Regions from separate parts of the Homo sapiens genome. Here region 2 is linked to region 1. The links are contacts of gene promoters, found by promoter capture Hi-C in blood cells and fetal thymus (Javierre and others, 2016). All regions are on one chromosome and are shown on one strand. The core of a region is centred on a gene start or on the middle of the fragment in contact, and the rest is flanking DNA. Distances in the headings are between cores, read along the strand shown.

Region 1 (6,152 bases), core at 2,444-4,943:
CTATGTGTGATTTTTCTGGAGTTTGATAAGTTTGCTTGCAGTACATTTTCTTTAAAAGAATGGGCAGCTACATGCATACTTCAAAAATATTTTCCTATAAAAAGAAGTTATATAGGTTGTGTTTGCTATCTTAATTTTAGTTGTATTCTTTGATGTTAACATATTTTGTATAATTGTATTTTATAGCTGTATTGAATCGTGTAGTATCAAATATTAGATGTGATTTAATAGTGTTAAATTTAAACCCATTTTTAGTCATTTTTCCAAAACATACTGCCAGATGCAGATGTTCAGTGTAATTTCTTTGCTTGTTCATTTACAGAAAAAGGTGCTCAGTTGTAGAAAGTATTGTACCTTTTAACACCTGATGCATACATCACATGTAACAGGAAAAGCAACAATAAAGTAGCAATCATTAAGAAAAAATACGGCAGAACAAGCTCTATAAGCACAGTCTTATTTTCTTTTGTTATCCAGAATTCTTATGATTCTTAAGCCTCCTAGAAATTGGAAGCTGAATGAAGCAACTCAAGTTTCCTTTATTTTGCACTCGATTACAGCAATTTATAATTTTTTTAAAAAGTTCCTCTGAAGGTATATCTGGATCATGACATTACTGAAGAAGCACCATATCCAGCCACTGCTTTTTTTCATGCAACCAGAGAGCAGAAATAAGGATCAGAAAATACTGAATAGAGTTCAAAGCTCAGAGGTACCAGGTTGCAGCAGAAAACTCCAGGTCTAGTTCTAAAAATGAAAGCTTGCCTTGTTTGAGAAGTTTACAGACTAGGCATATTAGAAGTGTAGTTTGTGATAAAAATAGTCTCATTAATTTCACATCCAGCTCTTTTACTAGTAAGTGTTAATCTGGGAGAAAAATGAGAAGCAACTGGTGACTACTTATATGCAGAATATTTTATTAATTCCAAGGTATTCTGTTAACTTGGTCTTTGCCTTATGATACAGAAGTAGCATTTACAATTTTTTTCAAAAAATACTGTTTGCATATGTTGTTTTGTGATTTAACCTAAATATACAATTTTGTATGAGGTATAATACATCATTATAAAAATGTGAACTTTGAAAATAGTTACAATTATATTGAATTAATTGCTTTTGTAGCTTACAGGCGTTTTTGTACCCCCATTATGAAGGTTTTGCAACTAAATTTATACCTAAAAATCTATTTTCTCCTGGATATATGTTAATATCATTGAAGCAAAAAGCTATGCTTAAATCTGATAAACAAAAGTTTATTTGCATAGAAAAGATGTTAAAGATAATTTTGAAATTAGAAAAACAAATGCTGTAGTGTTTGTTGTTGCTGCTGGCTTGTTTCTTTTTTTGTTTTTTAGCAAAACTCCACTGATGTCTCTTGGCTCCTAAAAACCCACAAGATGAAGTCCAAACACCTAATAGTTTTCTCTTAGTCACTCACGGTCCTCATGTAGTTAAGTCACACTGAACTTCATGCCATTCCCCCAAACACTCCATCCACTTTGTTCACATTGTTGTCTCTGTAATGCCTCTACTCCAGTTTGCCATTTATTCTTCAAAACTAGCTCAAAATGTATTTTTTCCAATGCCCTTTCATGTCTTTCCCAGGAAGAATGTCTCCCCATTTCCATGTCAATTTCTCACATCTGTTTCATCATATTTACATTATAAATATGTCTCCCACTAGTATCCCTCAGCTTTTTATCCTCAGCATCTAAGATGGACCTTGACACATTAGCATATCCTCAATAAAATCTTGAGAACTAAAAATAATAGAAAATAAAGCTTTATCATCAAAAGGCTTGGGGTTAATACAGGAATATTTCACAGGACGTTAAACATACAAACTAAAAGTAGCTGTTTAGAATTATTTGTCAATATTGGAATTGGATGACAAAGAAACAAGGCTTAGAAGTCCAGGGCCAGAAATAGAAAAGTGAGGTTCTGAAGGATAAAATGGGTTACTTAAAAAGGAGATGTAGCTGATGAATGGTAGAAGGGGAAACTTGATTCTTCATCACAAGTCAAATTCTCTTCACATGGCACTCGAGGTTCTCCATGGCTCGGCTCCATCCTGCCTTTTATGCTTTATATTCCACTGTTCACTTTCATGTGTGAAAATACTCTCTATAAACAAAATTCCTTTCTTTCACAAAACACACCCTTCTTTCCTTAGTTTCTATGCCATTGTTTCTAGGATTTCTTTTCCTTTGCTCAAAATTTGGAACAACAGCCACTCTCCTCGTGCGACTTTCCATGACTCTCCACCTGGATTTAAGTTCTGTCTCCCCTGTACCCACCTCTAACTTTACTTAACACCATTATTGTAACAGTAGCTAAAGACAGACTTGGCACCAACCAGGCTGGGTAAGTTTAGAGATTAATGAATGTCAGGGGATAAGTAGGCACAGTAAGGAAGGCAGTGTTCCAAAAGGGAGCAATGGCATTTCAAAGATCAAAGAGAGAGGTCAACAACTCTGGCTGACTCATGCACTCTTGGATTCTCTCCCTTTGAGCAAAGGCTAAGACACGAGTCTCCTCCCAAAAGCGGCGGTGCCCCTCCTTAGTGAGCTTCCAAAGGCAAGAGCGAGGTCTTGCATTATCTTCATCCTTAAGGCTGTCTGGCACCTTCTCAAAGCTGTCCAGGAAGCAGAGGTTGTAATGAATGGTGCTCTTCCAGCCATCCGGAGCTGTCCAGAAAAAGGGGAAATGCTGTCGGGTGAAATTGTAGATCTCCTGCACACTGAGGCCACAGTGGGGGTTGTTTCTTAATGCTAGGGCAATAAGGTGGCTACAATTGAGAGGGGGCCTTTGCCAGGACTTCTCTTGGTTGTTGATTTGCCATAGTTTCTGGCTCTGGTAACATTTCATTTCAGGGGACTGGAGGGAGTTGTCGTCTGGTTCCTCAGCCTCCTCTTCTGTGAGCTCAAAGTCACTGGGGGAATGGATACCCTGCTTCTGTAAAGGAGACTGCTCACTGGAGGAAGATGGCAGAGACTCTACCACTTTGTCCTCTGAGCAGTTAGACCCTTCGTCTTTTTGTGGGGGCTGAGGGAAAGGAGAAATGTTTGTCAGATCCTCTTTTCCACTGGGCTTTGGGGCCTCCTGGCTGCCAAGGGGGCACAGGATATTGGGGTCCACCCACATCCACAGATTGGGTTCACAGGGAGGACCATCTCCATCAGGACTGGGTCTCCTCTTCTGAGGCATTTCTGGGGGCTTCATTACTCCGACTCTGTATTTGGCAAGGATTTGCTCAGCTAAAGAGCACTGGTCTGTGGTACAAGGCAGAAATAACTCATTCCTCATGTCCCAGTCCAGCAGCCCTGGGACCTGGCCATGGAGACTATACCAAAATTCACAGTCTTTTAGTTTTAAGTCCATCTTTACTGGAGAGATAGGTGGAGAGAGACTTCTGAAAGAACAGATATCTAGCAGGCACTTAAAGCTGTCCTTTGGGCATCATTTTTTTATGCAGTGTATCTCATCTAGGGAGCTTATCAGTAGGCCTGCTAGAAGCACTGAAGAAAGAGGCACCAATGTCTCACTGATTAGTGGTCAGACCTGGAGAAACCTCAGCTTTCTGGAACAAGGCTCAAAACATGGAAGTAATAAAAAAGAGCTTTTGAGCAGAAAAACATTTTTAGGTGGAATTCTTGAGCTTTGATTGGAAGCAGAAAGTCACTTCAAGAGGAATTATAAACTGAATTATGTGCAAACTATGGTGACTTGCATAATAGGTGATCATCTGGCACATATTTAAACCCTTGATGAGTTCATTTAAGGAAGGGACAAACATATGTATAGATCACATTATATTTCTGAGTCTTCCTTAATGGTTTTAAAAATCATTTCATTCATCGAGTGCCTTTGGATTTTGGTTAAGTGCTTTCACATAGATGATCTCAACTGATTTTCATCACAGCCCTGCAAGATAACATGGTATTATTATCCTCATGTCACAGACATGGCAACTGAGATATACAGACATGAGTAAGTAGGAGAGCTAGATCCACAGCCCAGATCTTTTATTTTCACTATACGCATTGCCTCTTGATCATACTCAACATACGATATACAACAGGCAGTAATATGTGCAACCTGAGTTTTATAGTAAGATGGTAACTATCAGAACATGGCCTCTATTATTCTCATACTGATACTAGAATCTAACCTTGCTGCCGTTTTCAATCCTTTTCTGGGAAACAGCTGGCTTTCCTCTCTCCAGGTCACCTTCTTAGGAAATGAGTTCTGAACTATACTCTGAACAGTAGGACCAAAATTTAGCCACAGTATGCAAGGTCCTGAAAGCCCCAGAGGTTCTATTTCCAGTAAGTTCACACCCAGGACATTTGTAAGAAAAATAAAATGGCAAGGTTTCCTTTAATTCAGTTTGCACAAAATCCATGTGTAAAGTATGCGATATCATTAAAATCACTACATAGGACTATGTTGCAAACATATCCAGCAAATGTCAATGGGAGCTATTGGAGAGGCACTTTAATCTCCATATTGTTTCCATACTCTGGTTCTCTTCTACTCTAATCTTTCATACAAGTGGCCTGAGTTGTCTTTCTACAGCATAAATACAAAAAACAACACAACAGTTGTACCAACTGTTAATTATTACAGAATGCTGTAAGCACTCTAACTCAAATCTTCAAAATAATCCTATGAAGTAGGTACTCTTATTATTCTTCCTTTACAGAGTAAAAAACATAAGGCACAAAAAAGCCTAAGTCACAGAGCTAGTAAAGGCCAGAGCTGACTTTCAAACATAGGCAACCTGACTGCAGAACACATGCTTTTACTAACTATACCAATCTTCTCTATTTTGGTGTTATAACATAAAATCTTATAACTTAATGCAACATAAAAGTCCCTCCAAAATCTCACCCCTGCTTACCTTTCCAGGGTAACTTAACACCCTAGCTTTCTTGCTTCATACTTCACGTCCAAAAAGTACTGAAATGCTGGGATCTTCACCACACACCCGTTTTTTTCTCATGTCCCTTTGCTCAAAAACATTCGCTTAAAATGGCTTACTACCCATTGCCTTGACTTAGCTAACCTCTACTCATCTTTTAAGACAACAGAAAGCCTTCTCTAATAAAAACGCTGCTTCCATCTCCCCATAGGGAATTAATGGATCTCCTTCCAGTGGGGCACTGATCTTGGAAAAGCAGGAGATTAACTTGAAATATTTAGCTTATTATGCCAACCACGGAGAGCCTGGAAGCATTTTAGTGCTCAGCAGTCTTTTATTCCTTAAATGGGGGCTCTAGTGTTACAGAATTTCTCCTCCATCTTCACCTGGGAGAGTGCTCCAATCCTTAGATATTGGCTAGTAAAACCAAGTTATCACTGTGTATTGTTTCTTTGGGCCTCATTTAGAAACATTCAATATTTACGTATTGAGCATCCACCATGTTCCAAGAAGTATGTAATAGATCTGGCAGATGAGTAAGACACAACCCAAGAGGATATCACAGAGTAATGCGGAAAGACAGAGAAGTAAACAAAAGGTTAAAATACAGTGTGATGAGTATTAGATACTTCAATAGAAGAACATAGAGAGGAACAACTTAACCCAGATAATAGGAATCAAAAGGGATCCCATGGAAGATATTATTTAAGCTTAAAAGACATGTTACCCAGAAGCAGAGATATGGAGAACAGGCTAGCACATGCCAACCAGGTACACATTCAACACAGTATATGTACTATACAAAGCAAAACCCATAAAACTATATGAGTTTTAGAGTAAGATGTTAACCATCAAAAGATGGCCTCCGTTAATCTCAAACACATGTTAGAACCCAATCTTGCTTAAGTGTGCTCCAGGAAAGGAGACAGGGACATTTTGCACATGCTCTGGAAAAGTACTGAAACTCATATTTGTGGGTAGCCTGTTTCCCAGGTCCCAACCTATCCCGAGTGTTGATATAGGCAAAAATGTCAGCGGTTGATGAAACCATATGTTATAAGCAAAAAATGGCACAACAACATAAAAAGTTGGAAAAAGTGGTGGGAACTCATAATGACCTTAGAAATACCTCTTCAGCATGGGCATGCTTATGCTTGCTCTCTTATACACATACACACACACACACACACGCAGTCCCAATGGTATGATTTGGCTCTGTCCCCCACCT
Region 2 (6,010 bases), core at 2,299-4,798, 630 kb before region 1:
CAGCACTATTCACAATAGCTAAGATTTGGAAGCAACCTAAGTATTCATCAACAGATGAATGGATAAAGAAAATGTGTTACAGATACACAATGGAGTACTATTCAGCCATAAAAAGAATGAGATCCTGTCATTTGCAATAACATGGGTGGAACTGGAGATTATTATGTTCAGTGAAATAAGTCAGGTATAGAAAGACAAATATCACATGTTCTTATTTATTTGTGGGATCTAAAAATCGAAACCATTGAACTCATGGACATAGAGAGTAGAAGGATGGTTACCAGAGGCTGGGAAGGGCAGTGGGGTGTTGAGGAGGAGGTGGTCATGGTGAATGTGTACGAAAAAATAGTTAGAAATTGTCTGGGTGCAGTGGCTCTCTCCTGTAATCCCCAGCACTTTGGGAGGCCGACATGGGCAGATCACCTGAGGTCAGGATTTTGAGACCAGCCTGGCCAACATGGTGAAACCCTGTCTCTACTAAAAATACAAACAATTAGCTGGGCGTGGTGGCATGTGCCTGTAGTCCTAGCTACTCAGGAGGCTGAGGCAAGATAATTGCTTGAATCTGGGAGGCGGAGGTTGCAGTGAGCTGAGAAGCCACCACTGTACTCCAGCCTGGGCAACAGAGAGAGACTCCATCTCAAAAACAAAAAAAAGTTGGAAATAACAAATAAGACCTACTATTTGATAGCATGATAGGGTGACTAGAGTCAATAATAACTTAATTGTACACTTAAAAAATATCTAAAAGAGTGTAATTGCATTGTTTGTAACACAAAGGATAAATGCTGCAGGGATGGATACCCCATTCTCCATAATGTGATTATTTCACATTGCATGCCTGTATGAAAACATCTCAATGTATCCCATAAATATATACGCCTACTATGTACCTACAAAAATTAAAAATAAGGCCAGGTACGGTGGCTCACACCTATAAACCCAGCACTTTGGGAGGCCGAGGTGGGCGGATCATGAGGTCAGGAGTTCGAGACCAGCCTAGCCAATATGGTGAAACCCTGTCCCTACTAAAAATACAAAAATTAGCCGGGCATGGTGGTGCGTGCCTGTAGTCCCAGCTACTCAGGAGGCTGAGGCAGAAGAATAGCTTGAACCTGGAAGGCAGAGGATGCAGTGAGCCAAGATTGTGCCACTGCACTCCATCCTGGGTGACAAAGCGAGACTCCGTCTCAAATAAATAAATAAATAAATAAATAAATATATAAAAATTCAAAAAATAAAATAAAAGTTGAAATTATAACAAAAAGATTCCTAAATGTAACCAACTTTATCTGATGAATTAAATAAAGAAACAGACAAGTATTGTATATACAACACTGTATACTCAAGTCTATAGGTGATTTAAGGATTTTCAAGGTTAATTTTGACTGTATTTGAGTTTCACTCATGCAGTGAATTTGCAACCCCAAGAAAGACGGGACTTCAACATCTAGCACAGAGCCCTGGGACATAAAATCCAGATAACCTGTTTCGAATCCTAATTCTTGGAGTGTTCAAGGCCAGTTTTATTTTCCATCAAATGGGGAAACTAAGAATAATGATGGTTAATTTTATGTGACAACTTGGCTGGGCTACAGTGCCCAGATATTTGGTCAAACATTATTCTAGATGTTTCTGTGAAGGTATTTTTTTGGATGAGACCAACATTTAAAACATTGTACTTTAAATAGGGCACATTACTCTCTATAATGTGAGTGGTCCTCAACCAATCAGTTGAAGACCTTAGTTTTTAAAACAAAGACTGTCCTCCATAGAGCAAGAAAGAATTCTTCTCACAATCTGCTTTTGGACTCAAACTGTAACTCCTTCTGAATCTCCAGCCTGCCGGCCTACCCCTGATGGGGTTTTGGACTTGCCATGCCTCCACAATCTAATGAGCCAATTTCTTGAAATCTCTCTCTCTCTCTCTCTCCATGTACATATATGCATACACACACACATACACCATACACACATATCCTGTTGGTTCTGTTTCTCTGGAGAATACTAATTAATACACTGTTCAACAGGATTATGGTGAAGATTAAATAAGACAATGCATTTAATCTTCATCCTATCTGAAATATGAAATAGTGCTATATAAATAGTTGCTATTGTCTACTAAAGGTCTACTCTTGTCTTTATAGCCTTGATTCCAGAGGCTATGTTTCTTTTAGGCCAGATCTACTCCCCAGCTGACTATGAAACCAAGGCATTCATATACTTTCTAGAAATATGTCTTCCTTCACCTCTTCTCAATCCCCAAACATGTTATAGAAAGAAAAATGAGTTTAAATTCTGTAATCACTACCAGGTATTCAATACTATTATGGCCCAATATTAGCACCCTATTTTCCTGATAACTGACCTGCTTGAATACCTGCATTGAGCCACCTTCTGAATTAAGTTGGACCTCCAAGTTGTTTATGAGTTTATCCATATCTGGAAAAGAGAAAAGGAAAAGACAACTTTCAGAATAAAATCTAACCCACTATATGCATAAATATGCCATTAATGTTATGTGTGTTCTATGACCTTTATCTTTCAGTGCTTACCAGATACTGATAAGTCATTGAAACCTTCTGATTTATTTTACTCATCAAGATGGACCTAACTTTTCCCCAATAATATTAGCTGCTCCCCTCCACCAAACTGCATGCAGGTAATCTGTTTCTTCCTATTTCTCCAACATGCTCTGCCTTCAGAGGAACATCAGTATAGCTACAGTTTTCAGTATTCTACCTTCCTGGTCTAGTTCTTGCTTGAAGGAGTTCCAAGCTCCTATATATATATTTACCCGAGTGAACTTATTTACACATCAAGGCCAAATCTCTCTAGAGACGTATTTTATCTGTCTACGTCTCTTAAATCTGCAAGCCAGGTGGGGTAATAAAAACAGTTTTCTCTTTCTTCTTTAGTTTTTCCTCTTAAAAAAAGGAATTAGTGTCTTAATTCAGCTGCCTTAAACCATCAGTCATTCATACTAGAAGCACCTACTAGCTTTCTTCCTCAACCAGATTTTCTGGGAGTTAGATGTGCAGCACTCACATCCCATAATCTTTGGCAAGGCCTTTTTTTTCCTAAGCCACAACTTGTCCATCTATGATTAAAAGATTTCAGACTATCCTCTGCAGAACCCTAAGGCTTCCATGGAACTTGGGGGTGGGGTTTGTTAAATTAAGGTTAGCTTAAAGCTTCCTCCTTACATATTTCAAGTTCAGCCTAAAGGTTTCCCCATCCATAATGAACCATAACCTAACTGGATGTGTAGACAGTGTAATCTACTGTTGCGCCAATCACAGAGTTTCAGCCAATTACAGGCAGTCAACAACTCAAAGTGTTTGAATAAGGCAAATACTGAGATATAACCAATCCAGCTGTTTCTGTACCTCACTTCCATTTTCTGTCCATAAATATTATCTGACTACATGGCAGCCCCAGAGTTGCTCTGAATCTATTATTTCTTCTGGGGGCTGCCTGATTCATGAATCATTCTTTGCTCGATTAAACTGTTAAGTGTAATTTGTCTAAAGTTTCTCTTTTAACAGGTTAATGGAGGAACTGTAGTAAGTAATAAGAATAGTAGAAGCCAGAATTAAGAAAACTGACTTCCAATAGAATCTGAGCTCCTTGCAGGCAGATACTTTCATCTTTGTTTTTTTCACTAATGTATTCCAAGGCCCTAGAACATTGCCTGGTACATGGTAGGTGTTTAATCACATTTTCGAAGGTTTTTGATGACAGTGACAGAAAAGGAGAGTGAGGGAATGTGTTTTCTCAAGTACAGAAATTGGAAAAGGGTGGAAAAGAACGAAAGAAAATTAGAGAATTTATGCATGAAAGATGCCTGAGGTGTAATTAACTATGAAGTGAGAGGTGGTAGAGAGGGTAGCTAAGCTTTTTCTGATTTCTAAGACAGGAAAAGGAGGTGTGATGGTGGAAAAAGAATGTGAGGTCAGGTAACTCTCATACAGCCCACAGGGGGGCACCAAAACGCCAGGAGAGCTTTCTTTGTTGCTGCCAGAACCATGCGTAGGAGTGGAGAAGATTCGATTCTCCCTCTGCATTCACACAACACCTTCAACAGGCTTCATTATTTCTAGCAAGTACAACTTAAGACAGCCAACTCCAATCTGTTCTTCGATTCCTATGGATTAAGAGACAGCAGAGTTGAGGAAGCAGAGTGATTCTGAGAGGCTATATTAGCTTCTATGAACCTCAGTTTCTTCACCTGCCAAAAGAGGGGGTAACACGGTATTGCCTTAACAGAGTTAATGTGAACATTCCATGTTAATACATTCATATGCCATGTAATGACGTTTCAGTCAACGATGACCCACAGATACGACACTGTTCTTTTTTTTTTCATACTTTAAGTTCTAGGGTACACGTGCACAACGTGCAGGTTTGTTACATATGTATCCATGTGCCATGTTGGTGTGCTGCACCCATTAACTCGTCATTTACATTAAGTATATCTCCTAATGCTATCCCTCCGCTCTCCCCCCACCCCATGACAGGCCCCAGTGTGTGATGTTCCCCTTCCTGTGTCCAAGTGTTCTCATAGATACGACAATGATTCTATACAATTATAACAGAGCTAAAAAATTCCTATCACCTAGTGATATCATACCCGCTGTAATGTCACAGTGCAAAGCATTACTCATGTATTTGTGGTGATGCTGGTGTAAACAAATCGACTGTGCTGTCAGTCAATATAATTATATACAGTATGTAATACTTAACAATGATAACAAATGACTATGTTATTGTTTTCTGTATTTACTACACTATACATTCTATCATCATTTTAGAGTGTACTCCTTCTACTTACTAAAAAAAAGTTAATTATAAAACATTCTCAGGCAGGTCTTTCAGGAGGTATCCCAGAAGAAGGTATTGTTGTCATACCAGACGGCAGCTCCATGCATGTTATTACCCCTGAAGATCTTCCAGTGGGACAAGATATAAGGTAGAAGACAGTGATATTGATGATCCTGACCCTCATAGGCCTAGGCTGATGTGTCTTTGTGTCTTAGTTTTTAACAAAAACTTGTAAAAAGCAAAAAAAAAATAATTAACAATAGAAAAAAGCTTATAAAATAAGAATACAAAGAAATAAAATATTTTTGTACAGCTGTACAGGATTTGTGTTTTAAGCTAAAAAAGTTATAGTAAGCTAAGGTTAATTTATAAGAAAAAATTGTTTATAAATTTAGTGTAGCCTAGTGTACACTGTTTAAAAAGTCTAAAGTAAGGTACAGTAATGTCCTAGGCCTTAACATTCACTCGCTACTCACTAAGTGACTTACTCAGAGCAACTTCTAGTTCTGCAAGTTTCCTTCATGTTAAGTGGTGTTCAGGTACACCATTTTAAAATCTTTTATGCCATATTTTAACTGTGCCTTTTCTATGTTTAGATACACAAATATACACCATTATGCTACAACTGCCTACAGTGTCCAGTACAGTAACATGCTATAGAAGTTTGTAGCCTAGGAGCAATAAGCTATACCATATAGCCTAGGTTGTAGTAGATTATACCATCTAGGTTTATGTTAGTACATTCTATGATATTCACACAATGTAAAAATTGTCTAAGGATGTATTTTGCAGAACATATCCCCTTCATTAAGGGATGAATAACTGTACATGTAAATACACTTAAAACAAATCCTGGCATATAGAACACTCTCAGTTAGCTATTATCACCACCATTATTATTGTTGATTATCAGAATCTTGAACTCTGGCCCAAAGAATCTGTCCTGTGTATCAAATAGGACTTTTATACCCCATGAGTTCACAAACCTGCTCCACCTCTTATATTTCTAATCTTAATTTCTAGCACCACCATAAACCCAGTCTATCAGTCTAAAAACCTAGGGGTCAGCCACCTTTGACTCCTCTCTCCCTATCTTCAGCCAGTTGGTTATCAGCTATAATAATTCTCCTGCAGATATATCTCTTAAATCTAGCCCTTCATCATTTCATAGTCACTTCCTTCCCCT

What was found. The method cuts DNA at HindIII sites, captures the fragments that hold promoters and counts their contacts. A CHiCAGO score of 5 or more calls a contact.
Region 2: a contact is called between a fragment that was not itself captured here and the fragment with the promoter of FOXR2 in region 1, in 4 of 17 cell types (total B cells, megakaryocytes, naive B cells and 1 more). The highest score is 8.1, in total B cells.

What each region holds. Positions count from the first base shown.
Region 1 is chrX:55,620,941-55,627,092 of GRCh38, reverse strand. FOXR2 (forkhead box R2) reads right to left here and starts at 3,693. Exons shown (of 1, transcript NM_198451.4): 1 at 901-3,693. The coding sequence starts at 3,381. The coding sequence ends at 2,446. The HindIII fragment of the contact is 3,852 bases long and covers 1,785-5,636 here.
Region 2 is chrX:56,246,663-56,252,672 of GRCh38, reverse strand. It overlaps KLF8 (KLF transcription factor 8), which reads right to left. Exons shown (of 6, transcript NM_007250.5): 2 at 2,369-2,442. Among named protein-coding and RNA genes, the nearest start is that of KLF8, 17 kb to the right of the region's middle. The HindIII fragment of the contact is 703 bases long and covers 3,197-3,899 here.